Regions from separate parts of the Homo sapiens genome. Here regions 2, 3, 4, 5, 6 and 7 are each linked to region 1. Evidence: promoter capture Hi-C in 16 types of primary human blood cells and fetal thymus (Javierre and others, 2016). All regions are on one chromosome and are shown on one strand. Each heading gives the region's core, a stretch centred on a gene start or on the middle of the fragment in contact. The rest is flanking DNA. Distances are from core to core; before and after follow the strand shown. Region 1 holds the start of SVOPL (SVOP like). Region 2 holds the start of CREB3L2-AS1 (CREB3L2 antisense RNA 1). Region 3 has its middle 23 kb from the start of CREB3L2. Region 4 overlaps LOC124901753 (a long non-coding RNA gene). Region 5 overlaps AKR1D1 (aldo-keto reductase family 1 member D1). Region 6 overlaps AKR1D1 (aldo-keto reductase family 1 member D1). Region 7 has its middle 10 kb from the start of MIR4468.

Region 1 (3,392 bases), core at 433-2,932:
CTGGTGAACCCATATGAGGGAGCTCCAAGCTCAAGAGGGGCAGGCCCCTTCCAGATCCTCCCAGATGCATCTGTGTGACCCCCAGCAAGGGCAGTAATCACCACCAAAATCTTCATTTGCAATAGGTGTACAACAGGATGAATGCAAACGCCTAGTAAAGAAACTCGAATGGGTTACCCTGATAGGCATTGCACTCATTCTTTACTCCTTTTTTATCTTTTTTTTTTTTTTTTCAGACAGAGTCTCACTCTCTCTCCCAGGCTGGAGTGTGCAGTGGCGCGATCTTGGCTCACTGCAACCTCCGCCTCCCAGGTTCAAGCACTTCTCCTGCCTCATTCTCCCGAGTAGCTGGGATTACAGGCATGGACCACCACGCCTGACTAATTTTTGTATTTTTAGTAGAGACGGAGTTTCACCATGTTTGCCAGGCTGGTCTTGAACTCCTGACCTCAAGTGATTCACCCGCCTTGGCCTCCCAAAGTGCTTGGATTACAGGTGTGAGCCACCACTCCCGGCCCATCCTTTACTTCTTCTTCTTCTTCTTTTTTTTTTTTTTTTTTGAGACAGATTCTCACTGTGTTGCCCAGGCTGGAGTGCAATGGTGCAATCTCGGCTCACTGCAACCTCTGCCTCCCAGGTTCAAGTGATTTTCCTGCCTCAGCCTCCCGAGTAGCTGGGATTACAGGCACATGCCACCACGCCTGGCTAATTTTGTATTTTTAGTAGAGATGGGGTTTCGCCATGTTGGCCAGGCTGGTCTTGAGCTCCTGACCTCAAGTGATCTGCCCACCTCGGCCTTCCAAAGTGCTGGAATTACAGGCATGAGCCACTGTGCCTGGCCCTTAAATCATGCTATGGGCCCTCAGCTGGGACTCTTCAACTGCAGGTTCTTGGTCAATTTCCTTCTTGGTTCTGTGGCATACAAACAGGGATTTGCCTCTCCATTTGAAAGCCATGTTCTTGCCTTCTGGAATATCAAATAACTTGATTGCAATTTTCGACACGGCCGACTCATCAGCAGAAGCACTGATGCTGGAAACAAACTGGGAGATGACATTCTTGGCAGCATATGTGACACCCACAGCAGTTGTTGCAGTTACCAAATAGGAGAACCCTTTCCTAGCCTCGCCATCCTCTTTTGAAGACTTTGTCCCATCAAAAATCTCAATGCAACAGTAATCAGGGAAGTCAGGCACATTGATGTCTGTATGGGAATAACGAACAGAAGCAGGGACATTGAGGCCCACAGAGTTGACCCAAGACAGGCTCATGGCCTGGCCACTCAGTGACTCCTGGCATAGCAAAGGCTGCTCTTGTACAGCACAGGCAGCTTCAGGGTGGCAGGCACCATGGCCTATACCAGGGGCTACAGCATGCCTGCCACCCTGCAGGATATGGCTGACAGGATGGGCATGAACCTGCTCCTTAATTCTAAGCAATGGCTGTGAGCAAATGTTTGCAAGGGCAAAGCTTCCCTCTGCCCCTTGCCTAGGTCTTCTCTTTCAGAAATTCTTCCAGCTGTCCTGAGAACAACATAGTAATTTCCTCCAAAGTTCGGCAGCCTCTTTCAGTCTTAACAAGAAATGTAATTTCCCCTTTAAAAGGAGATCAAGTGCAGGCTGCTGAGAAGAGGGTGTGCCCTAGGTGTCATTCACTTGCCCAGAATGCGAAGTTGGCCCTTAAAGAATCCTGATCTGAGACCCGACCTGAAAGGAGAGGATAAGACCAGGGAGCCAGGCGTCTTGGGAACACAAGTCTGGCCACCCCTGAGAAGCCATCTGTGCTCCAATTTCCGTCTAAGACTTGGCCACGGTGAGGGGAGCAAAAGAGCCTGAAATTGGAAGACTGTCCAAGGAATATACAGAGGTGAGAAATTTGTGGGCAACATTGATCTGGACTTATTTTTTCCTGCTGCTGTAGAGGGTGGGGTGGGGCATTGACTGTTAGTTTGTGGCCGAAGGCAAATGGAGCATGAAAATTTCCTTGGATATTGCAAAACAAATTACATCACACATCACACACAAAACTCAGTTTAAAAAAGATCTACTGTGGCCCAATTATTTCTGGTTAAAAAACAATCAGTATAACAAAATACAATAGAATAAAATGTCAATCAGTCCTTTAGAATTTGTTTTAATGAAGCTTGAACTCCATCTGAGTTCAGGGAAAATCCCCAATCTATCAGTTTCTCACCAGGTTTTGTGAAGGTAGGTCATGGATTACTTTCCCATTGTAGCTTTTTAGGAACTTATAGTGAGGGACGCGAAGCATTCTTTTCCATGTTATTCCCTATTTTCCTGAGTTGGTCTAACTGATCATCCATCTGCCATCCATCCATCCATCCATCCATCCATCCATCCATCCTCTTACTGGGTTAGAAAGGATTTAGAATGACACAGGAAACCAGCCGGGTGCGGTGGCTCACGCCTGTAATCCCAGCACTTTGGGAGGCTGAGGTGGGTGGATCACAAGGTCAGGAGTTCAAGACCAGCCTGACCAAGATGGTGAAACCCCGTCTCTACTAAAAATACAAAAAAATTAGCCATGCATGGTGGTGGGTGCCTGTAATCCCAGGTACTCAGGAGGCTGAGGCAGAAGAATCGCTTGAACCCGGGAGGCAGAGGTTGCAGTGAGCCAAGATCACACCACGGCACTCCAGCCTGGGCAACAGAGTAAGACTCTGTCTCAAAAAAAAAAAAAAAAAAAAAGACATACGGAACCAAAGAACAGAGTATGTCAATTCAGCCTTTCCAGCATTCCATTGCTGAGTTAAGATTGCAAGCTCTATCTCTCAATAATGTTCCTCATCTCCATCTCTCAAACATGTTGTTCTCTTCTTTCTTCATGTAGCTTTTGGCTGAAACTCTAGAGACTACCAAGAAAATACATTTCATATATATGCTAACTAACTTTGAGTTTGTGTTTGAGTGTCCTTTTAATGACTTGGAGAGTAAGCCCCTTTCCAAGGTACAGATGTGAACGCTACAATCCTGATAATCTCCTGCCAACAGCCCTGTGCCCTGCAACTTGCTCCACCAAAGGAATCCTGTTGTTGAAAACTCTGTATCCTAATAGGGTGGGAATGAGGACTTTCTCTGTTGCAGGTAAACCTGTACGTTTGTTTCTTCCCCCTCTTGGCAAATTCCCCTGACACCGGGGACCCACCCGGCCCTGATTATCTTCAAGGGCTATGCATTGGGAAGACCAGTGTTACAAGTGACGGGCACTGAACGCTGTTCCGGTGGCGGGGCGAGGGCTGACTTGCTCCTCGGAGCCACACCTCACCACCAGCCCTTTTTTTCCACCCTCACCCCACCCCCTGCACCAACTATGCCTTTGGAAGAACTGAAGTTTGAAAGCTTCTTCTTCCTCTAAAATATATTGATTTTGCA
Region 2 (3,392 bases), core at 496-2,995, 750 kb after region 1:
TCATTCATTATTTACTTTTAAATGTAGGTTAACGTGGTGGGAGAATGGTGTCTCTACCAGTGGCTCTGTCCAGGGAACTTTAGAGTTTTATGTTAAATAAGAACCCAGACTCTGGCAGTTACAGGACCTGGTTTCTTGGGTCTGGGTTCTCAGTCACTGGGAGTCTTGAGTGACTAATTACACTTGTGCTTAGGCAACGTTTGTAGTCTTCTTTCTATTCCTTTGTAGGTTGGGCAGTTGTTCCGACTTCTGTGGGACTGAGAGATATCCCAGGATGTGGAACTTTACAACCAGAAAAGTCTGAGGCAACTGGGGCAGCTGGTCTTCCTACTTTCTAGCCTCCATGCCTTCCTCTTCTCCTCTTACCTCCTCTCTCATGGCCAGACAATACCATGAGCATTCCAAACTCTTTAGGCTGCTGTTACAGATAAACTTTACATGTGGTGGACCTGGGGAGTTTGGCAACACAAAGTTATTCATTTTAAAAAATAGGAGTGCTCCTAGGGTAGTTTGGACGCAAGCATAAGCTGCCTTTATAGAGCTTAAATGTGTGCTGCCTGCAGTGCTCCTGATGATTTCTTTGTGGTTCTTTCCTTTTTGCTAAAAGTTTTCTGAAAATAGAAAGCCGTGGCCATTATAGTTAGAACAGGGAGCAAACAGGAACCTCTGAGAGGATCCCTAGCCCCCTGCCCCCTGCCTGGGTCCACCCCTACTTCTGGGTAGCTATCTGCTGTCACCACCTGCAAGAGCAAGAGTATTTGTAAGCTGTGGATTATGTCCCTAGGATTACTAGTCTTTCTTTTTCAGGAAAAATAATACACAATTCAAGCCAAATGTAAACAAGCACTAAGATCCTACACTTTTGTTCTCGGTGATCATTAAATGCTGTGGGTCATTTCACAATTTCAGTTGTCATTTTAGTTATCCCTCATGCGTAGACAGGACAGGTACAACCTGTATCTCAAGGTCAAAGGGCAGGACTCTACTTATGTTTGTGGAACTTCAGAATACCAGACAGAAACCCATGCAGAGAGGTAGCCTCTCAAGATTTTGATCTTGTCTCCTCCGTGAAGAATGACATGAAGAATTTCTCTTTCCCTGTGATTCATCAGGAGAGTGCTGTTTATTCTTCCAGGTTTACAGCTCACACACCCCTGCTGCTTTTCCCTCCTGGAGAGGTTACAGGACCTTGTGATCTTACTGGGCTGTGTGAAAAACCCATGATGATGCCTTTCCCTTCTGCAGATCTTTGTTTGACCGTCTGTTTTAAGTGCCCCTTTTTCTCTTGGTTATCTAGCTGCCAGCTGTTTACAAACTAGTTTGCATCAAGCGGTTGCCTAGAAACCATCATGAAAACAGGATTAGGCAAAGCATTTTTTCTATATTACAGCTGCTTTCTGATGAAGGCTTGGCATTAGAAAGAGCTCAGTGTCTACCCCTTCCCAGCCTTAAAACACAATGCAAGTGAAACAAGGACTTTCCAACAGAGATGAAATGATTTCTCTAGAGTCACATTCTGAGACCGTCATCACCCACCCAACTCTCCCCTCCTCTGCAAACCCGCATACCTTTCCCTTTCAGGAGAGTCGTGTGTTGGGGATGGTTGACGCTTTTTAAAGAACATTTAACATACACCAACAGCAGGTCTCAGATACTGTTATTTATCCATCTATTCCTCAGGCCTCAGCTAGACTGGAGTGGGTGCAGAGAAGTTAGAAGGCTCTGGCAGTAATTTGGTCATAAGGAAGGAATGTGTTATGTGGAGTAGCAGTTAATCAACTAAGCGGTAAGCAGGTTTTCAGTGAAACACCACCGGGAGCTAATCCCACTTAACATAAACTACAGTGACTTAGAGGGAACAAACTGTCTAACCCTGAGCTCTCTTGTTTCCCAGGAAATAAATCAGGATGAAGTCAAGAGACATCAAGGAGTTTACATTAAAAGGTCTTACTAAGTGATTGAAATATTCTTAAACTGGCTGGGCACAGCGGCTCATGCCTTTCATCCCAATACTTTGGGAGGCCGAGGCAGGCAGATCACTTGAGGTCAGGAGTTCGAGACCAGCCTGGCCAACATGGTGAAACCCTGTCTCTACGAAAAATACAAAAATTATCCAGGCGTGGTGGCAGGCGCCTGTAATCCAGCTACGTTAGAGGCTGAGGCAGGAGAATCGCTGGAACCCGGGAGGCGGAGGTTGTAGTGAGCCAAGATCACGCCACTGCACTCCAGCCTAGTTGACAAGAGTGAGAGAGAGAGACCCCGTCTAAAAAAAACAAAAACAAAAACAATTATTCTTAAACTCCTCCTGGAGTAGGATAGATAGGTAAATAAGTGATTATATCTGGATTTGGGGTCAAAGGAGAAAGAGGAATCAGGAAAAACTTAAGAGTTAGTAAGTCAGCAAATACTTACTGAGCACTTCCTTCTAGGTGTGGTAGAGTTGGGGTGGGGTAGGTAGGGTGGCTGTCAAACACTGAGCAAGACAGACAGTCCCTGTATATTCTAGTGCAAAGGCGGGAAAGCAGGGGCCAGATCATAAAAACTGGAACAGATAAATCAGTAAGCTAATTTCACAGACTGGCAAATGCAGTGAAGATGACAAAATGGGACCTGTGGCTACCGTAGGGGTCATGGACACTGTTTCTCTAAGGTGACATTTGAGTTGAAAGGCTGAGAGCCTGAGGGCTGGGCGGGGATATCCTCTCAGCCATGGGGAAGTTGGGAAGGAGGCTGAGTATGTGGAAGAGATGGTTAATAGAAATCAAACACAAGGAGAACCTTCAAAGTCAGATGATAAATCAGGTCCATACTAGGAAGATCTTTTCCAAGTTTCCCAGAAAAGTAAATCAAACCTCACCAGGCCTCTAGATGGTTTTAATTACCTTTTTGTAGGGCTGCTGAACAGGGTATTAGTCATATACTTGACAATAAGGACTTGTGGATTTTTCTCAGAGATATTAATGGATGGGAGTAAATTTGCATTTGAAATTTTATTTTTAAATTACGAAAATAACATATTACCAAAGTTAGAGAAATAAGAAAAGAAAAACTCTTATGTTCCCACTATCCTACCAGCCCTATTGTCTATTTTGTATATTTCTTGAAGACTAGGTCTCACTCTGTCACCCAGGTTATAGTGCAGTGGCGTGATCCTGACTCACTAGAGCCTCCACCTCCTGGGCTTAAGCGATCCTCCCACCTCAGCCTCCTAAGTAGCTGGGACTGCAGCTGTGCACCACCACGCCCAGCTAATTAAAACATTTTTTTTGGTAGAGACAGAGTCTCCCTATGTTGCCCAGACTGGTCTCGTCTCGAACTCCTGGGTTCAAGCAGTCCTTCTGCCTCACCTCCCAGAGTGCAGGGGTTACAGGCATGAGCCACCATGTCTGGCC
Region 3 (3,392 bases), core at 264-2,763, 680 kb after region 1:
GAGAGAAAGAAAACAAATAAACTATTTCTTAGGAAAATGGGAGTACTTGGTTACAATTCCCCACTACCAAGTTCCCTTCCATCTCTGTGAAATTGGGGTACTGTATTTATTCTGGCTACTTCCTGCTGAAAGACAGTGTAGTTATTGGGTATTGGTATGGAATTGATCTGTTTGGATTTGGAAATATTCATGAATACCTGGACTTTACAGATGATATTCGTTGGACCATTATGGTGCAAGTTCCGGAAAGTCTCTGGGGAAAGCCCGTCTCGCATTCCCATATGGAGGGTGCAGCAGCAGTAAACTCCACAACAGAGGGATATGCCTATCCTTGAAATCAGGGCGAATGTTACAGCCAGCTTTTGCTACCAGGATGGTACTGACCTGAGTCAGGACAGTAATCACTGGTCTAGTGACAATGTGGAGTCAGACAAAGCTTTGATTTGTTGGTATGTATCTTGCAGGGCTATCTGAGACATTTCCCAAATTTACTGGGATGTATACACAGCAGTTAGTCTTAATTATCATACAGGTTGTCCACTGCCCATCATAACTGGATATAATGACAGGTTGGCTAAATATGTATTTAACAGGTTACAGGAAGAGCTATGAATACTCATGAACATTGTCATAAGCACTGTCTAGTTCTTGAGAATGGATCAGTTTAGTTAAATATCTGTGTCCCATCCAGGAGGTGGCATTGCAGGTGGGCTAGGCCTCTACATGTGATAAAGGCAAACAGATTATTAATAAGAGTCATTTCTATGGAGACAGAAGAAAAACAAAGGTTAACACTGAGCACAATTTATTCAGATGTTAGACTCAAAGCATCTTTAGTTACAGAAGAGGAAGGCTGTGGTAGTCTGACATGTCTTTCTCATCTATATTACAAGGAATAATGTAGTAGTAATTTCATTGATTCCAAGTCAGAAAAATTTTCAAGCAATAATTTGGGACTTGAAGCCTGGATGGAATTCAGGATTCAGTCCAAATTGCAGAAAATAAAAACTCACAAACAAACAGTGAACACAACTAGACTCTAACAACAGGTGTGCTATGTTTTTTTTCTAAAACATATTTTTTTCTCTCTAGTTATTTTTACTAAAGACAAGTCATTGTAGAACCAATTTATTTGCATAATAAATTTCAGTCTTATCATCTGTGGCCTGAATATTTGCATAAAGTATAGCAAGAATTATTACTTGCCACATAGACTCTTTCTAAAATTGACTTTGCTGGTAGTGTTTGATTCCTTTATTCCATAAGGAATCTCAGATTAGATTTTTAAAGACTTGAGCCCAGTCATGGATTTATCTGTACCTGCAAATACTTATATGAGTTGGGGGAATTCCTCTCCTTAAGGCCCCAAGGTAATTTGGGGCTCCTGGACCTGTCAGGTGACATTCTTTACTTACCACAGGTGAGGAACTCTATACAAGGACTGTGTAGACAAGGTATGAGGCCAGTTTTCCCAAGGGGCTTTTATTGGCTCTATAAGTCAACTGTGATTACTTAAAGCAGTCTGTTTATACCTGAAAGTATGCCACTCTAGTCAAAGCCTTGGTAAAATCACCAGGGTCTCCAATGGTGTCTTGTTACAAAAGAAAAAAGATTCTTATTGAACTTGTGCAAACAACTATACTGCCATAAATTAAGTACACTTACAAATAGTTTTCAAATTCTGAGGAAACCAGGTAGACAGAAAGAAATACGCTCTAAATTTTACTCTCAAGAATGTAATTTACCCAGTTGCTAAAAGCTGCAAACAGTACAAAAGACAAAAGGTTTTCTGAACTCTGTGAAACAAAAGAATTAGCAATGTTTCAAACAAAAAGTTGTAAAAAGACTATTTTGGTCTTCCATTAGTTCAGTCTATGTAATTAACTCCTGTCCTGCTTGACATTTATGAACACATTAACTCTCTATGGCAGTCTTGGAAGTTTTTCCCTCTATTCTAATGTCACAATTTTCAAAGTTATCAGAAACTTAAATTCCAGGGCAACTCTCAGAGTCCTATAGCTGATTATAAAACTGCCTATGAAAAGAATCAGAGTGAAATAACAATTGGCAACTGCATACAGAGGGGTTTGAGGCTCCCTTTCCTTTGGGGATTGCCACCTCTCTCCCCTAGCCTAACAAATAACTCTGCTCACCGCCACTCAGGCCTGCAAAATGAACACCAGGCCACCGGGGCCTGAAGAGTACTGGAGCAAGGGGGTTGCTCGTGGCAGGGTCAGGGGAGGGGCTGCCCAGGCCGAGTGAGGGGCTAAAGTCTCAGAACAGCTGTGGTTAAAGTCTGATCACCTTATGGCACAAAACAATTTAACATAACAATTATAATTGTTACTGATAATATATAGACATATCAGAATTATAGGACATATCAGAATTATGGGAATCCTATACAATTTTGGAACACATGCTAATAATATATTTATATGAATATGACCCAAAGAAAGTTTAAACACCATTTTATATTTGGCAATATTTTTTGTATGGTTTTAGTATGCCAAATAAGCCAAATATGTCTCTTTTGGACTTTAGGGTACCTAATATCTAAAAGAGTTAGCCAGATCAAAGAAAAAGCTTAATTTAGAAGTTGACTTTGGAAAGTTTGTCAAATATCAAAGGTTTAAACACTTACTATTACAAAATAGAATCCCAGGTCACTATATGTCATTTATTTAGCCAATGATATCCCTCCTTCTCAGGATGAAGATATATTCCTATCTTATGAAAACATTCAAGTAACACCCTGGACATTTTCATGTTACTCTCTTTTTTAGTACCTGGTGATTGGCTTTGGTTAGATTTTCTATTTTAACCAATGCTTCTTCCTGTTCTTTCATTTTTAGCTTCTCTTTCAGTTTCTCTGCTTTGAACAGTTAGGTACAGTCATTAAATAGCTTTTGGTTCATCTGCATGAAGAGCTTCAGTGTGTTGGATATCAAGCCATGTATTGTCTTGTTCCAATGGGTCTTTGAATTGCAGTACAAGCATGGAAACATGATCAGCAGAATCTTTGCTGCGCTGTTACTGATTAAGCTCATAATGTATTCATTATTCCGGTAATAGAGCGCTTGCTCTGCCACCTGGAAGTGTGAGCTGGAGACACATTTGGCTAGCTGCCAGAAGAGAGGTTCCATGATCTTCCAAATTCCAATGGTTCAATTATATCTAAAATTTCTTCTAATTTGTTTAAGAAAATTACTTCTTTTGGACTGTAAGTCTTTGGCCCATATTTGAGAAGTGCCATCACCATTGATGCAGTGAGGGTGCTATCCTTTTCTAAAAACTGTACTACACAATATGCCAGCTGGGGATGGTAGACTCTCAGAGATTTCACTTTGTGCAAAGGTATAGCACCTTGACTAAGAAAATCTGTGCTCTTC
Region 4 (3,392 bases), core at 554-3,053, 630 kb after region 1:
GTATCTAACCCCAGGTCACAAAAATTTAATTCTGTGTTTTTTTTCTGAAAGTTATATAGTTTAATATTTTCTGTTTAGACCTATGGCTCATCGTGAATAAATTTTTGTATAATTGAAGAGATTTAGTTGTTTTGTTTTGAATAAGGATGGCTTATTGTTTCAATTACATCTGTTGAAAAATCTGTGCTTTCTTCACTGAATTTCTTTTGCACCATTGTTAAAAATAAAAGGCAAGCGAGCAGCCATATACTCTAGTAAATCATAAGACCAGCCCTGATTTTATTGATAATTGTCCAAGTTTCTAAAAACTATAATATGATAAATATTTCAACATTAAAACCATATATTTAAAAAAATAAAATAAATAAATAAAAGGCCATATATTGGTGGGTCTATGACTTTCTACTTTGTTTCATTGATTTTTTTTTTGCTTTATTTCTGTGAACTCCACATAGAAATAGGCTTCACTGATCTATTTGTCTCTTCTTTCATTGATACCACACTGTCTTGATTTTTGTAGCTTTATCATAAACCTTAAAACCATATAGTATAATTTTCAGACTTTATTTTTCTTGCCCAAAAGTATTTTAGCTATTCTTTCTCTTTTACTTTCGATATATGTTTTAGAATCAGTTTGTGTGTTTAAAATTCCTGCAGGATTATTTTGTATATTTAAATTGTTTTCTGGGTGTCTTATTTTGGGCTGCCATAATAAAATATGATAGACCGGGTGGTTTAAACAACAGCCATTTATTTTGCACAGTTCTGGAAGCTGTGAAGTCCAAGATCAAGGTGCCAGCCAATTCAGTTTCTGTTAAGAGCCAGGAAGAGAGCTTCCTGGCTTGTTGATGGCTGTCTTGCTGTGTTCTCACAGTGTGTTGGGGACTGGGGAGGTGGGGAAGAGGAGAAACAGAGAGTAAGCAAGCTCTGTGGTCTCTTTTTAAAAGGACACCAAGCCCGTCATGAGGAACCCACCCTCATGACCTGATATAAACCTAGTTACCTCTCAAAGGCCCCATCTCAAGATACCATCACACTGGGAATTCAAGTTTCAGCCTGTGAAATCTAGGGGGACACTATTCAGTCCATAGCGCTGGAGTTACCCTGGGGATTACGATTAGCATCTTAACTTTGTAACAATCAAGTTTGAATTAATACTAACCCAGTTTTAATAGTATTCAAACATTTTGATCCTTTAAAAACTCCATCAGCCTACTCCTTTATGATATTATTGTTACATAGATTTTGTCTTCAGGTTTTGACAATTTGACAGTAATGTGTCTTTCTGTGGATCTCTGGCTGTGTCCTTCTTGGAGTTCACTGAGCTTCTTGGATGTGTAGTGTCATGATTTGCACCTAATTTGGAAAGTTTCTTGGCCATTATTTCTTCAAAAAATAGTGTTTTATTTTTTTCTCTCCTCTCTTTCTTGTACTGCTATTATGTATACGTTTGTATGGCTGATGGTGTCCTACAGGTCTCTTAGGCTTAGTCATCTTTCCACTCCAGTGAGTTTTAAATGTCAGATATATTTTTCATTTCTGAAATTTCCATTTAGTTATTTTAAGTATGCTTTATTTCTTTCCTTAGACTCTCTACTTTTGCACTGGCTTCATGAGTGTTCTTGATTGTTTCCTGGGAAACTTTTGTAATCGCTGCCTTAAAGTTTTCACCATATAAGTATGTACAACATCTATGACATCTTGGCTTTGCTGTCTTTTGGTTATTGAGAACTTTTTGAATGTTAGGTTATGAGATCCTGGGTCCTGGTTTTGTTTGTTTGTTTGTTGTTATTGTTTGTTTGCTTTTGAGACAGGGTCTTGCTCTGTTTTCCAGGATGGAGTGCAGTAGTGCAGTCACAGCTCACTGCAGCCTCAATCTCCTTGGGTCCTGTTTAAATGGCATAGAATGTTAATGTTCTCATTGTAGAAGGCAGGCTTTAGAGTTGTATTCAGTGGGGGACTCCATCTTATTTGGAACTAGAACCCTCACATGTTTCTTAATTTTTAATGTATTATATACATCCTTACTAAATTGATGGAATCTAAATATTACATTGCTTTTCTCATCAGAAATGTTTCAAGTTACTCTTTATATATTAATATTTTCAAAATAAATTGACCTAAAACAGCTCCTATTTTCATTCAACAAAAAAATTGCTTGTGAATTATACTTTCTTTGTGGCCATAAATCCATAAAAATTATATTGACAGAAATAATAAGATTAAGTTTGGTATTTACTATGTACTTTACATGGCTTCTTTAATTTTCACAACAATCTTATGTGGTGAATATACTGGATCATTTAGTGTCCCCCCAAAGTCAGGTCTATCTGAAACCTCAGAATGTGACCTTATATTTAGAAATAGGATCTTTGCAGATATAATTAGATAAGTTACTATTGGATTTCAGTAAGCCCAAATCCAATGACTGGTGTTCTTATAAGATGAGAAAACAGAGACATAGAGGCTTAGGGAAGAATGACATGTGATGACAGAGACAGAAATTGAAGTAATGCATCTACAAGCCGAAGAATGCCAATGATCGCTGGCAACCACTAGAAGAAAGGAAGAGGCAAAGAAGCATTCTTCCTTAGAAACTTCAGAGGGAGCATGGCCTTGCTGATGTCTTCATTTCAAACTTCTAGCATCGAGAAATGTGCTAGAATAATTTTTGTTTGTTTGTTTTAAGCCACCTAGTTTGTGGTAATTTGTTATGGCAGCCCTTAGAAAGGAATGCAGTGGGTAATATTATTATTCCTGTTTTATAGGAAGAGTCTTGAGGTCCAAAACAGTTTTTGTCAAAAATTGCTTAGTAACTGGAAGAACTGCCAGGCTGTCTGACTCCAGAGCCTATGCTTTTAGTCACTACACTCTACTCCCTCCAATAAAGTGATAACAGGGTAGATACATTGATCAATGACAACATATTTAAAGGGACTACAAAAATGACTAATCCAAACTAGTCATAATTAAATGAAAATAAATTGAAACCTTCGTATATAATATGCTCACAGTATTAGATACTCTTCTCTCTGTAGATCTGATGGTAGAAAAATGTTTGCTTGTTACTGTATCAGAGATGAAAATTGATTTGACCTGTTTACTGGAGAGCTATTATCAATAATAAATTTTACTAAATTATTAGTATTATTTATTATTACTATTAGCATAATTAATTATTACCATTAATAAAAAGGTTAATAAAAATGTCTAGAGTATATCTTAAGTCAGATACTTTAGATGACATTTTAGCGCCATTTAGTCAATCACTTGTTGAATACATCAGTCCAGGACCATTAGAAAAATACATGTAACCAATGAAGTTAGTTTTATAAACTCCCTGCAGCAAGGAAGACTGCACTCTACATAGAAGCATGGAGTCTTAGTAAGAG
Region 5 (3,392 bases), core at 623-3,122, 610 kb after region 1:
TGTATCTTATCTTTTATGCCATATTTTTACTGTACCTTTTCTATGTTATGTTTATATACACAAATATTTACCATTGTGTTACCATCGTCTACAGTATTCAGAATAGTAACATGCTGTGCAGGTTTATAGCCTAGGAGCAATCGGCTGGGCTATCTAGCCTAAGTCTGTAATAGGCTATACCATTTAGGCACAACGTGTTTGCGTTTTATTCATGTTATTACAAAAGTAATGCAGTCTACCATGGTAAATAAAACCTTACCACCTCGGTTTGTGTAAGTACACTCTATATGATGTTTGCAGAACAACAAAGTCACCTCATGACACATTTCTCAGAATGTATCCCATTGCTAAGCAACACATAATTGTACACTGGGTCTTTCTAAATTTTTAAGACTTAGGTTAGAAATCTGACATTTGAACAAGAGTCAGCATTAACAAAGTGAGGATGAGGGCGGAGATTGTGACTGTGTGAGTGGGAAGAAGGGTGTGTGTCTCAATGGTGGGCTACAGTTAGAGGACTACATGTTGGTTTGATGCAGAGAGCTTAAACTATAGTTGTAAAAACATGGTATAATAGAAATTGCATTGAATTAAAAAATCAAGAAACTTGGAAACCAAGCCTGAGTCTGCTAACATAATCTTCTCGGGTATTTGTCAGACTAGGTCAGTACTCTCTGATCTGTGGTAACAAAACACCACAATATTCTGTGGTGCCAAGTAATACGCTAGCTTCATGCACATAGCTATTGGCTCATGGTGCAGAGCTTCATGCACATAGCTATTGGCTCATGGTGCAGAGCTTCATGCACATAGCTATTGGCTCATGGTGCAGAGCTTCATGCACATAGCTATTGGCTCATGGTTGCCAGGGTGCAGAGACCTGACCTTTGGGCATCTGAACTCACCTTAAAGGCCATGGGTACTTCAATGATGTAAAGATCCACATAATCTAGCTGGAGGACCCTGAGTGTCCTCTCCAGGGTTGGGCGGACCATCTCTGGGACATGATTTGTAGCCCATAGCTGAAAGAATCAAAGAGGGAGAATTAACTAATGTCTACACGCTTTTTACGATAAGGCAGCCCCTTTTTCTTTGTAAAACACTCGTACACATTTTTTTTTTTTGAGATGGGGGGTCTCACTATGTTGCCCAGGCTGGTCTTTAACTCCTGGGCTCAAGCGATCTGCCCACTTCAGCCTCCCAAAGTGCTGGGATTATAAGCATCAGCCACCGTGCCTAGCCGCTTGTACACATTTTATTCACACATTTCATTTCACAAAAATATGTTTATGATGCAGTGTCATCTGAGTATAGGATGAGCTGATAAAACTCTTGACACTCAGAGCCTAGCTTGAGAGCTTGTTTGGAGGTTCTAGTAGGGGAGTGCAGCTACTCACATACACTTGACCTAAAAACCCTCCTCCTTCATCAGGGAAAGCCGTCCTCTTCCACTGAGAGTGCAGCTTCAAGAGGTACAATTGCCTAGACAGCCAGATCAGCTGAATTAGCCCTGGTGACTAATGGGGTGACATATGTTACAGCCAGATCACCCTCACATCTCCAGACATAATTTTATGCAAATCTACCACAAGAGACTTACAGATCCTCCTTGACCACAGAGTACCTAATTTGATGGCAGTCTTCCCCATTTCCGGGTGAATTTCCTGATGCTTAGTGCTTGCATTTTTCCTCATTGTATAACTAGGGTTACACAATGTTCTAGATGTCCTGACCTAGCGTGATACTTTATTGTCATGCCACTCTGATAAAATGAGCAAGGAATATGGTTATGCGTGTGGCTTCACTGGGTCCTTCACATTGTGACAGGTGGTGTGAAAGCCTGGTGAAATTTTAAATTAGTGCATAGATTTAGATTTGCTTTCACTGATCTTTTGTTCTTATTTGGTCCTACTTAGACCCCAGAGCAATTAAATTACTCTTTCGCTAAGGCATTACATAATGAAGGATCAAGGTTTGGTTGATCCTACTGGAGCATGTGTACCCTTAAGTGTCTGAGACATACGGTGCCAAGGTTGCTTATACCCACAGGACAAATTAGTACATCTTTTGGAATATCAGTTTTGCTCACAGATTTTTTTGGGGGGATATAAGTTTAGAATCATACTTTTCTTTTTTCTTTTTTTTTTTTTTTTGAGACGGGGTCTTGCTGTGTTGCTGAGGCTGGAGCGCAGTGGCTTGATCTTGGCTTAGTGCAACCTCTGCCTCCCGGGTTCAAGCGATTCTGCTGCCTCAGCCTCCCAAGTAGCTGGGATTACAGGCACCTGCTACCACGCCTGGCTAATTTTTGTATTTTTAGTAGAGATGGGGTTTCACCATGTTGGCCAGTCTGGTCTCGAACTTCTGACCTCAAGTGATCCTTCCTCCTCTGCCTTCCAAAGTGCTGGGATTACAGGCTTGAGCCACTGCACCCGGCCTGAATCATACTTTTTTTGGTCACAAGAAAGGGTAAGCAAAATTGGTAATATCTGATTTTTTCCTCTGTTGGACAATGATTTTTTTCTTGCCTTAAAAACACAGAGAAAATTTAACATGAAGAGAGTAGTGGAAAAATGTGTTACGTGTGTTTTGATTGCTACTCTGGGTCTCTTTGGTGTTCCTATTGCAATCCCATCTAAGTGGAAATTCTGTTTGATATTTATTTTACTTTCTTTTTCATTCCTGGGCATAGGCTGATGATATTTTAATTTACTTTTATTCAACAAACATACATAGTATTAGCTTTGTGCCAGGTTCGGTGTGAGTGCTTTGTAAATGTGAACTCATAACAACTTTATGAAATAGTTGACATTATTATCCCCATTTTACAGAGAAAAAAAATTGAGGTCCAGAAATGCTAGGCAACTCAGCCAATAGTGACAGATCTGGGCCTCTGACCTGGGCAACCTTGCACCAGTCTAGGCTCTTAATCACCCCCACATTGCCTCTCAGGTGCTGCTGAGCTGCAGTGAAGACAGTCCTGATGAGGCAATAGCAATGGCACATTACATGAACTCAGCTGCACACACTGTTTCTGTTTACGTAAGTAAACACCAATATTTCGCCCAAGTATGCTTTATTACATACAGCCCATATTGACATTGTATACGTATAAATATTGCTTTCTATTCACAACTGTACTTTTTGGACAATTTAAAGGATTAAAGTTAAAGGACAATTTAAAGCATGTTTTGACCACCTTTTCCTTGTATGCTAACTTTAGCCTCTATCATAGTAAGAAATGACTCCTATAATATGAGTCATTAAGCAAAAGGCTTGCATAATGTGCCTGCCCAGGAAGCCTACATAGCTGGCTTTTGGATTGGTGACCTTATGAGCTTGTTTTTTTTTTTTTTTAATTTACGTTTGTTTGCTTTTATTAAACAAAATCTGAA
Region 6 (3,392 bases), core at 420-2,919, 590 kb after region 1:
GAAGAGAGAAGTGGATAATACTTGGAGAGGAAAGTGAGTCTAGGTTGGATTTTATTTTTTAAGATAGGAGGTTACTACATATGTGAATGTTGGTGGGAGTTACACAGTAGAGAGGAACAATTGCTAGTGTAGGAAAGAGAGGGGGATGTTTGAAATTGAGGCTATGGAGGATTTATTAGGAAGTTGTTATTGCAATTTCCAAGGGCTAGGCATGGGAATTAGTGGCTGAAATATATAGGACAAGATTCTTATGGGAGAGGAAGTCAAAGAGCTGTCGGATAAGGGTGGAGAACGACTGGTGTGGATGTTGAATTCACTAAGAATTATGAGAGGAAGAGTGTTGGAGAAAGTGAAAGTGAGCCCAGAGATAACATCTTCAAAGAATGGAGGCCAGTGGATGATGGCAACAAAGCTGGACCACACCTGGTATAATTTCTTTTTTTTAAAATTTTAACTTTTAAAATATCCTGGCTCCGTATTAGCTTTCTTCATGTTTACCTTTAATTTTATCTAGTTTTTAAACTCATGGTTTTTTGTTTATTTGTTTTGAGACAAAGTTTCACTCTTGTCATCCAGGCTGGAGTGCTATGGTATGATCTCAGCTCACTGCAAACTCCGCATCCCTAGTTCAAGCGATTCTCCTGCCTCAGCCTCCTGAGCAGCTGGGATTACAGGCGCCCATGACCATGCCCGGCTAATTTTTGTATTTTTAGTAGAGATGGGGTTTTGCCATGTTGGCCAAGATGGTCTCAAACTCCAGACCTCAGGTGATCCACCTGCCTCAGCCTCCCAAGGTGCTGGGATTAGAGGAGTGAGCCACCGCACCCAGCCTAAACTGATGATTTAACTTAACTTTTTTTAATTTTAAAGCAATGGGATCTCGCTTTGTTGCCCAGGCTGCTCTCAAACTCCTGGTCTCAAGCAATCTTCCTGCCTCGGCCTCCCAAAGTGCTGGGATTACAGGTGTGAACCACTGTGCCCAGTCTTAACTTTTTACTACATAGTTTTTATTTTCTTTTGCTTTTCTTTTTTCATCAAAATATTTATTTTTCCCTTTATTCTTTATGCTTTATTGATCTTTGCCATTCTTTTAAAATATTTCTAACAGTTTATTTTACCTTCATTCTAAGAGAGCATAATTTATTATTTTGTTGCTCCTTGCTTTCATACCCAGCAAAATTCATGGTTATTGGGTGAGTCTATTCCCTAAAGAGTGAGAATTGGCTGTGATTTTCATTCTCATTTTCCTTCTAAATCTGTATCCGTTTTTTTCTTGGAATATGTGACCTCTGAGTTCCATTCTTTTATTATCAAGGCTATGGAAACATATGGAATATAACATAATTAGTTACAATGAAAATTTCAAGGAGAGTGGCATTTTCTCTGGTACAAAATTGCGATTTGCTAGATGCTATAAAGTCCAAATGCTTTCCATCGCAAAGGTCACTTGTAACACTCCTATAATTTTTGAACAGCAAAATTTTCAGTCCTCAAAAAGTCCATCAAAATGTGTTTTAATCTTCAATGAGCCTACACATTAGTAATGCAGTTGATCTCTTTCTAAGATTGTGGAAAAGAGTGTCAACCACTTTTTAGGATGAGGCATTTTGGCAAATGTTATTGTCAGGAGTTGATGTAACTATTCAGCATCTTTTCGCCTTTTTTCTTTTTACGAACTTTCCTTCCCCCTTCTAGTGGAGCTGTCTGTTAACTTCTTCAGCACAGGAATAGGGATATAGCCCTGGGGTCAGGGTATCCTACTCAGTGGCCACAGTGGGTAATATGAGGGTGACCTTCAGGAGCTAATCAGGGATTGATAGAGACCCTGATAGAAGACTTTGTTTCTGATCATCTTCACTCTTCACTGAGTATGAGTAATTGATTATCCTGGAGCTGTTAGGAATTGTCTGTGCCACCATGTGGGTGGAGAGAAAGGAGGGAGAGAGAGAGAGGACTAAATCTCTTTATAAATCATTTGAGTACCTGTGTCTAGCCATTTCTGATCTACTCATGGACTTTCCAGTTATGCAAGCCAATAAATTATCTTTTATTTTTTGCTAAAGTTTGAGTTGCATTCTATCATGTAGCAAAAAAGCTCTGAAGATGTAATTGTCTAATATTGTGGCTATCTTCCTATGTCAGTACTTGTATTTTTTAAATGGCTATATGATATTTCAGTGTACAAATATGTCATAGCTTGTTTTATAAAATCCTGTTGAAGATTGTTTTGAGTTTTTAAAAAATTACAAAGAATTCTATAATAAACATCTGTCTGTGTGTGTGCACCCATGTATATATGTGCAAATACATCTATAGGGTAAGACTGCTGAGTCAATGGATAAGTGTATTTGAATTTATTTAATTTGACAGATAACATTGTATGTTTTTATCATATACAACATGATGTTTTGACATACATATAAATTGTGGAGTGGTTAAATCTAGCTAATTAACAAATGCATTACCTCATATAGTTATCATTTTTGTGGTAAGAGCACATAAGATGCACTCTCTTTATGTTTTTCAAGAATACACTATATCATCATCAACTATAGACACCTTTTTGTACAATAGATCTCTTGACATTTGTTCCTTCTAACTGTAATCACAACTTTTTTGACCAACATCTCCTCATAGCACCCTCCCTTCAATAATCTCAGCCTCCGGTAACCACTATTCTACTCCTTACTTTTATGTGATTAACTTTTTTAGGTTCCACATATAAATAAATCATGTAACATGTACATTTGAATTTTGATGGACATGAAATAATTTAACCTACTCTTCCATATCTCATACAAATTAATGTTTCTAACAATAGTGTGTCAAAGCGCCTGTTTCCCCAAATATTACCAAGTATTTTGATTATTTTCTGATATGAAGGGACAACTAGTATCTTACTTTTTATTTATCTTTAATTATGAGTAGGGCTAAACAGGCAATTTACTTTTGAAATGTAAATTAGCTAATGGGTAATTAATTAATTTTGTATGGCACTTTTCTATGGTTGTGTTTACCTAGCAGTTTAGTCTTTAGTAGTAGCGGAATAAATGAATTACCCCTTTGTCTAGTTCTTTCTTCACTTGGAAGTTACAACGTAAGTCATAGATTACTTATAGAGGGAAGTAAAGGCAATTAGCATTCATGAAGTCTAAATGGTCCTCTTCAATAATTTTCAAATTTGTCCTCAACTTTTACCAGAGCCATTAAGAAGGTGGAAAGTTGACTATTATGAATTCCAAATTTTATTCACTCAATTTCTGTTGTGCTGGTAGAGAAGTGAGTAGGTAGTGTCAAGGGTCAATAGATAAGGGAAGAGGCTGGGTACAGTGGCTCACGCCTGTAATCCCAGAACTTTGGGAGGTCAAGGTGGAAGGATCGCTTGAAGACAG
Region 7 (3,392 bases), core at 317-2,816, 570 kb after region 1:
AATTACAGCCCAATATTCCTGAGGAACGTAGACGCAAAAATCTTCAACAATAGACTTGCAAACCAAATTCAATTGCATATTAAAAGGATCACTCACCATGATCAACTTGGATTTATGCCTGGGATGCAAAGATGGCTCAACATATGCAAATCAGTAAATGTTATACATTGTATTAACAAAGTGAAGGACAAAAATCATGTCAATAGATGCATAAAAAGCATTTGACAAAATTCAGCATCCTTTAATGATTAAAACTCTGAACAAATTAGTTATAAAAGGAATGTTCCTTAGCACAATAAAGTCCATATATTACCAGCCCACAGCTAACATCATACGCAATGGTGAAAAGATGAATATCTTTTATCTAAGATTGGGAACAAGACAAGGATGTCCACTATTAAGAAATGGGAAACACCAAGTGTTTTTCCTAATCCCACATACCCCTCAGCACAACACTTCTAATGCAAAATGTGTAGGGGCTCTTCACCAGACTTCCAAGCCATTCTCCAGCAGACACCAACTGGGTGTCCTACAACTTAACTCAATTCTGATACCATCTACCTAGAGATAGAGTCAGATCCCACAGGTTAAGGACTCAGCTCCTTGAGACTGCCCCCATTTCAGATGTCAATGGTAAGCCTCAGGTTGTGACCTGTGCTTCTGACCGGTCAGCTCTAAATTGGGGTTCTCAAGACCCCCTCCTTGGGTTCTATTAATTTGCTAGAGTGGCTCACAAAACTCAGGGAAATACTTTACTTACATCTACCTATTTATTACAAAGGATATTTTAAAGAATACAAATGAACAGCCAGATGAAGAGATACATAGGGTGGAGTCTGGAAGGGTCCGGAGCATAGGAGCTTTCATCCCTATGGAGTTGGGGTACACTACCCTTCCAGTATGTAAATGTGTTCACCAACCAGAAAGCTCTCCAAAACCTGTCTCTTTAGGTTTTTGTTGTTGTTGTTATTGTTGTTGTTGTTTTTAGACAGAGTTCCTTCTCTGTTGCCCAGGCTGGAGTGCTGCAGTGTGATCTCAGCTCACTGCAACCTCTGCCTCTTGGGTACAAGCAATTCTGCTGCCTCAGCCTCCCAAGTAGCTGGGACTACAGGCACGCACCACAATGCCCAGCTAATTTTTGTATTTTTAGTAGAGATGGGGTTTCACCATGTTGGCCAGGCTGGTCTTAAACTCCTGACCTTAGGTGATCTGCCTGCCTCAGCCTCCCAAAGTGCTGGGATTACAGGCATGAACCACTGCACCCAGCCATCTTTAGGTTTTTAATGGAGACTTCATTAGGTAGGTATGATTGGCCTTTGATGACCAAATCAGCCTTCAACCCCTCTCCCCTCCCTAGAGGTGGGGGGTGTGGCTGAAAGTTTCAACCCTCCAATCACATGGTTGGCACCCCTGGCAACTATCCTGTGGTTATCTAGGAGTACTCAGTGATCAGCCATCTCATTAGCATACAAAAATACATATCGCTTTGCAGATTTCAAGGATTTTAGCAGCTTTGTGCCTGGAACCAGGGACAGAGACCAAGTATATATATATTTTATTATATCACAATATTACACTCACTCTCACCACTTTTTTTTTCAACATAGTACTGAAGTCCTAGCCAAAGGAATTGGGCAACATAAAGAAATAAAAGTCATCCAAATCAGAAAAGAAGTCAAAATGTCTCTGTTTGCTGATTACAAGATTTTATGTATAGAACAACCTAAAGATTCTACCCAAAAGTGTTAGAATTAATAAATGAATTCAGTTAAGTTTTAGGATACAGCATCTACATATAAAAATCACTTGTGTTTCTATACTTTGGCAATAAACTATCTGAACAAGAAATTTTTTAAAAAGTCACATTTATAATAGCATCAACGGGAATAAAATAATTAGAAATAAATTTAACCAAAAAGGTGAAATATCTGTATACTGAAAACTATGAAACATAATGAATTAATGAATAAAATTGAAGAAGACACAAATAAATAGGTATTTCATGTTTATGGATCAGAAGAATCAATATTGGAAACTTGTCTATATTACTGAAAGTGATCTATAGATTTAATGCAATTCCTATGAAAATGCCAATGTCATTTTTCATGGAAATAGAAAAAAAATCATAACATTTATATGGCACCTCAAGAGACCCTGAATAGTTAAAGCAATCTTGATCAAGAAGAACAAAGCTGGAGGCTTTGTGTTCTGATTTCAAATTTCATTACAAAGTGATAGTAACTAAAGCAATATGATACAAGCATAAAAACAAACACACATAAACCAATGGGATGTAACAGGAAACCAATAAATAAACCAATACATATATGATCAAGTAATCTTCAATAAAGATGCCAAGAATATACAATGCAGAGAGAATAGTCTCTTCAGTGAATGATGTTGGGAAAATTGGATATCCACATTCAAAAAGAAACAAAAAAATGAAATTGGATTCTTATCTTACACCATGCACAAAAATCAACTCAAACTTGATTAAAGATTTAAATGCAAGATCTGAAACCATAAAATTCCTAAAAGAAAATATAGGGGAAAAGCTCTATGACAGAGGTCTTGTCAATGACACCAAAAGCACAAGCAACAAAAGCAAAAATAAGCAGGCAGGATTATATCAAAGTAAAAAGTTTCTGCAAAGCAAAGGAAACAATCAGCAAAACGAAAAGTCAGCCCACAGAATGAGAGAGAATATGCACAAACCATAGATCCTATAAGGAGTTTATATCCAAAATATATAAGGAACTCTTACAACTCAGTAGTAGAAAAACAACCTGATTTTAAAATGAGCAAAGAACCTGAACAGATATTTTTCCAAGGAAGACATACAAATACTCAACAGAAAAAGGCAATAAATGGCAATTATCAAAACCATGAAAGATATCAAGTATTGGCAAGAATGTGGAGAAACTGGAACTCTTGTACGCTATTGGTGGGAATGTGAAATGGTGCAGCCACTGTGGGAAACAGTATAAAGGGTGCTCAAAAAATTAAAAATAAAACTACCACATGACGCAGCAATCCCACTTTTGGGTATATCCAAAAGAACCACAATCAGGATCTTGAAAAAGGTGGATATCTGGACTCCCATGTTCATTGCAGCAGCATTTTTCATGATAGCGAAGATACAGAAACAATCTAAATGTCTGTCAGTGGGTGAATGGACAAGGAAATTATACATATATATGTGTAATACACACATACTTCATTAGGTAGGTATGATTGGTCTTTGATGACCAAATCAACCTTTAACCCCTCTCCGCTTCCTAGAGGTGGGGGTGGGGCTGAAAGTTTTAACCCTCCAATCACATAGTTGGCAGCCCTGGCAACTATCCTGTGGTTATTTGGAGTACTCAGTGATCAGCCATCTCATTAGCATA

Evidence for each region. Contacts are between HindIII fragments. The CHiCAGO score rates a contact against its expected background, and 5 or more counts as called.
Region 2: the fragment with the promoter of CREB3L2-AS1 here is called in contact with the fragment with the promoter of SVOPL in region 1 in 12 of 17 cell types (fetal thymus, naive CD4 T cells, M0 macrophages and 9 more); the score reaches 9.2 in fetal thymus.
Region 3: a fragment that was not itself captured here is called in contact with the fragment with the promoter of SVOPL in region 1 in 1 of 17 cell types (M0 macrophages); the score reaches 5.2 in M0 macrophages.
Region 4: a contact is called between a fragment that was not itself captured here and the fragment with the promoter of SVOPL in region 1, in 1 of 17 cell types (M2 macrophages). The highest score is 5.6, in M2 macrophages.
Region 5: a contact is called between a fragment that was not itself captured here and the fragment with the promoter of SVOPL in region 1, in 7 of 17 cell types (erythroblasts, endothelial precursors, M2 macrophages and 4 more). The highest score is 8.0, in erythroblasts.
Region 6: a fragment that was not itself captured here is called in contact with the fragment with the promoter of SVOPL in region 1 in 7 of 17 cell types (endothelial precursors, erythroblasts, megakaryocytes and 4 more); the score reaches 8.9 in endothelial precursors.
Region 7: a contact is called between a fragment that was not itself captured here and the fragment with the promoter of SVOPL in region 1, in 1 of 17 cell types (endothelial precursors). The highest score is 5.4, in endothelial precursors.

The regions. Positions count from the first base shown.
Region 1 is chr7:138,699,652-138,703,043 of GRCh38, reverse strand. SVOPL (SVOP like) reads left to right here and starts at 1,682. Exons shown (of 16, transcript NM_001139456.2): 1 at 1,682-1,866. It also overlaps the pseudogene UQCRFS1P2. The HindIII fragment of the contact is 672 bases long and covers 1,473-2,144 here.
Region 2 is chr7:137,951,701-137,955,092 of GRCh38, reverse strand. It overlaps CREB3L2-AS1 (CREB3L2 antisense RNA 1), which reads right to left and starts at 1,745. Exons shown (of 4, transcript NR_161346.1): 1 at 1,569-1,745. All of the region lies in intron 1 of CREB3L2 (cAMP responsive element binding protein 3 like 2), which reads left to right. The HindIII fragment of the contact is 9,042 bases long and covers 1-3,392 here.
Region 3 is chr7:138,023,747-138,027,138 of GRCh38, reverse strand. It overlaps the pseudogene LOC100128052. Among named protein-coding and RNA genes, the nearest start is that of CREB3L2, 23 kb to the right of the region's middle. The HindIII fragment of the contact is 2,150 bases long and covers 439-2,588 here.
Region 4 is chr7:138,069,187-138,072,578 of GRCh38, reverse strand. It overlaps LOC124901753 (a long non-coding RNA gene), which reads right to left. Exons shown (of 2, transcript XR_007060553.1): 2 at 732-1,888. Among named protein-coding and RNA genes, the nearest start is that of AKR1D1, 5.6 kb to the left of the region's middle. The HindIII fragment of the contact is 7,969 bases long and covers 1-3,392 here.
Region 5 is chr7:138,089,398-138,092,789 of GRCh38, reverse strand. It overlaps AKR1D1 (aldo-keto reductase family 1 member D1), which reads right to left. Exons shown (of 9, transcript NM_005989.4): 3 at 906-1,022. It also overlaps the pseudogene RN7SKP223. Among named protein-coding and RNA genes, the nearest start is that of AKR1D1, 15 kb to the right of the region's middle. The HindIII fragment of the contact is 6,515 bases long and covers 1-3,392 here.
Region 6 is chr7:138,107,910-138,111,301 of GRCh38, reverse strand. All of the region lies in intron 7 of AKR1D1 (aldo-keto reductase family 1 member D1), which reads right to left. Among named protein-coding and RNA genes, the nearest start is that of MIR4468, 14 kb to the left of the region's middle. The HindIII fragment of the contact is 4,177 bases long and covers 1-3,392 here.
Region 7 is chr7:138,132,335-138,135,726 of GRCh38, reverse strand. No RefSeq gene overlaps it. Among named protein-coding and RNA genes, the nearest start is that of MIR4468, 10 kb to the right of the region's middle. RefSeq lists an enhancer at 3,079-3,392. The HindIII fragment of the contact is 9,735 bases long and covers 1-3,392 here.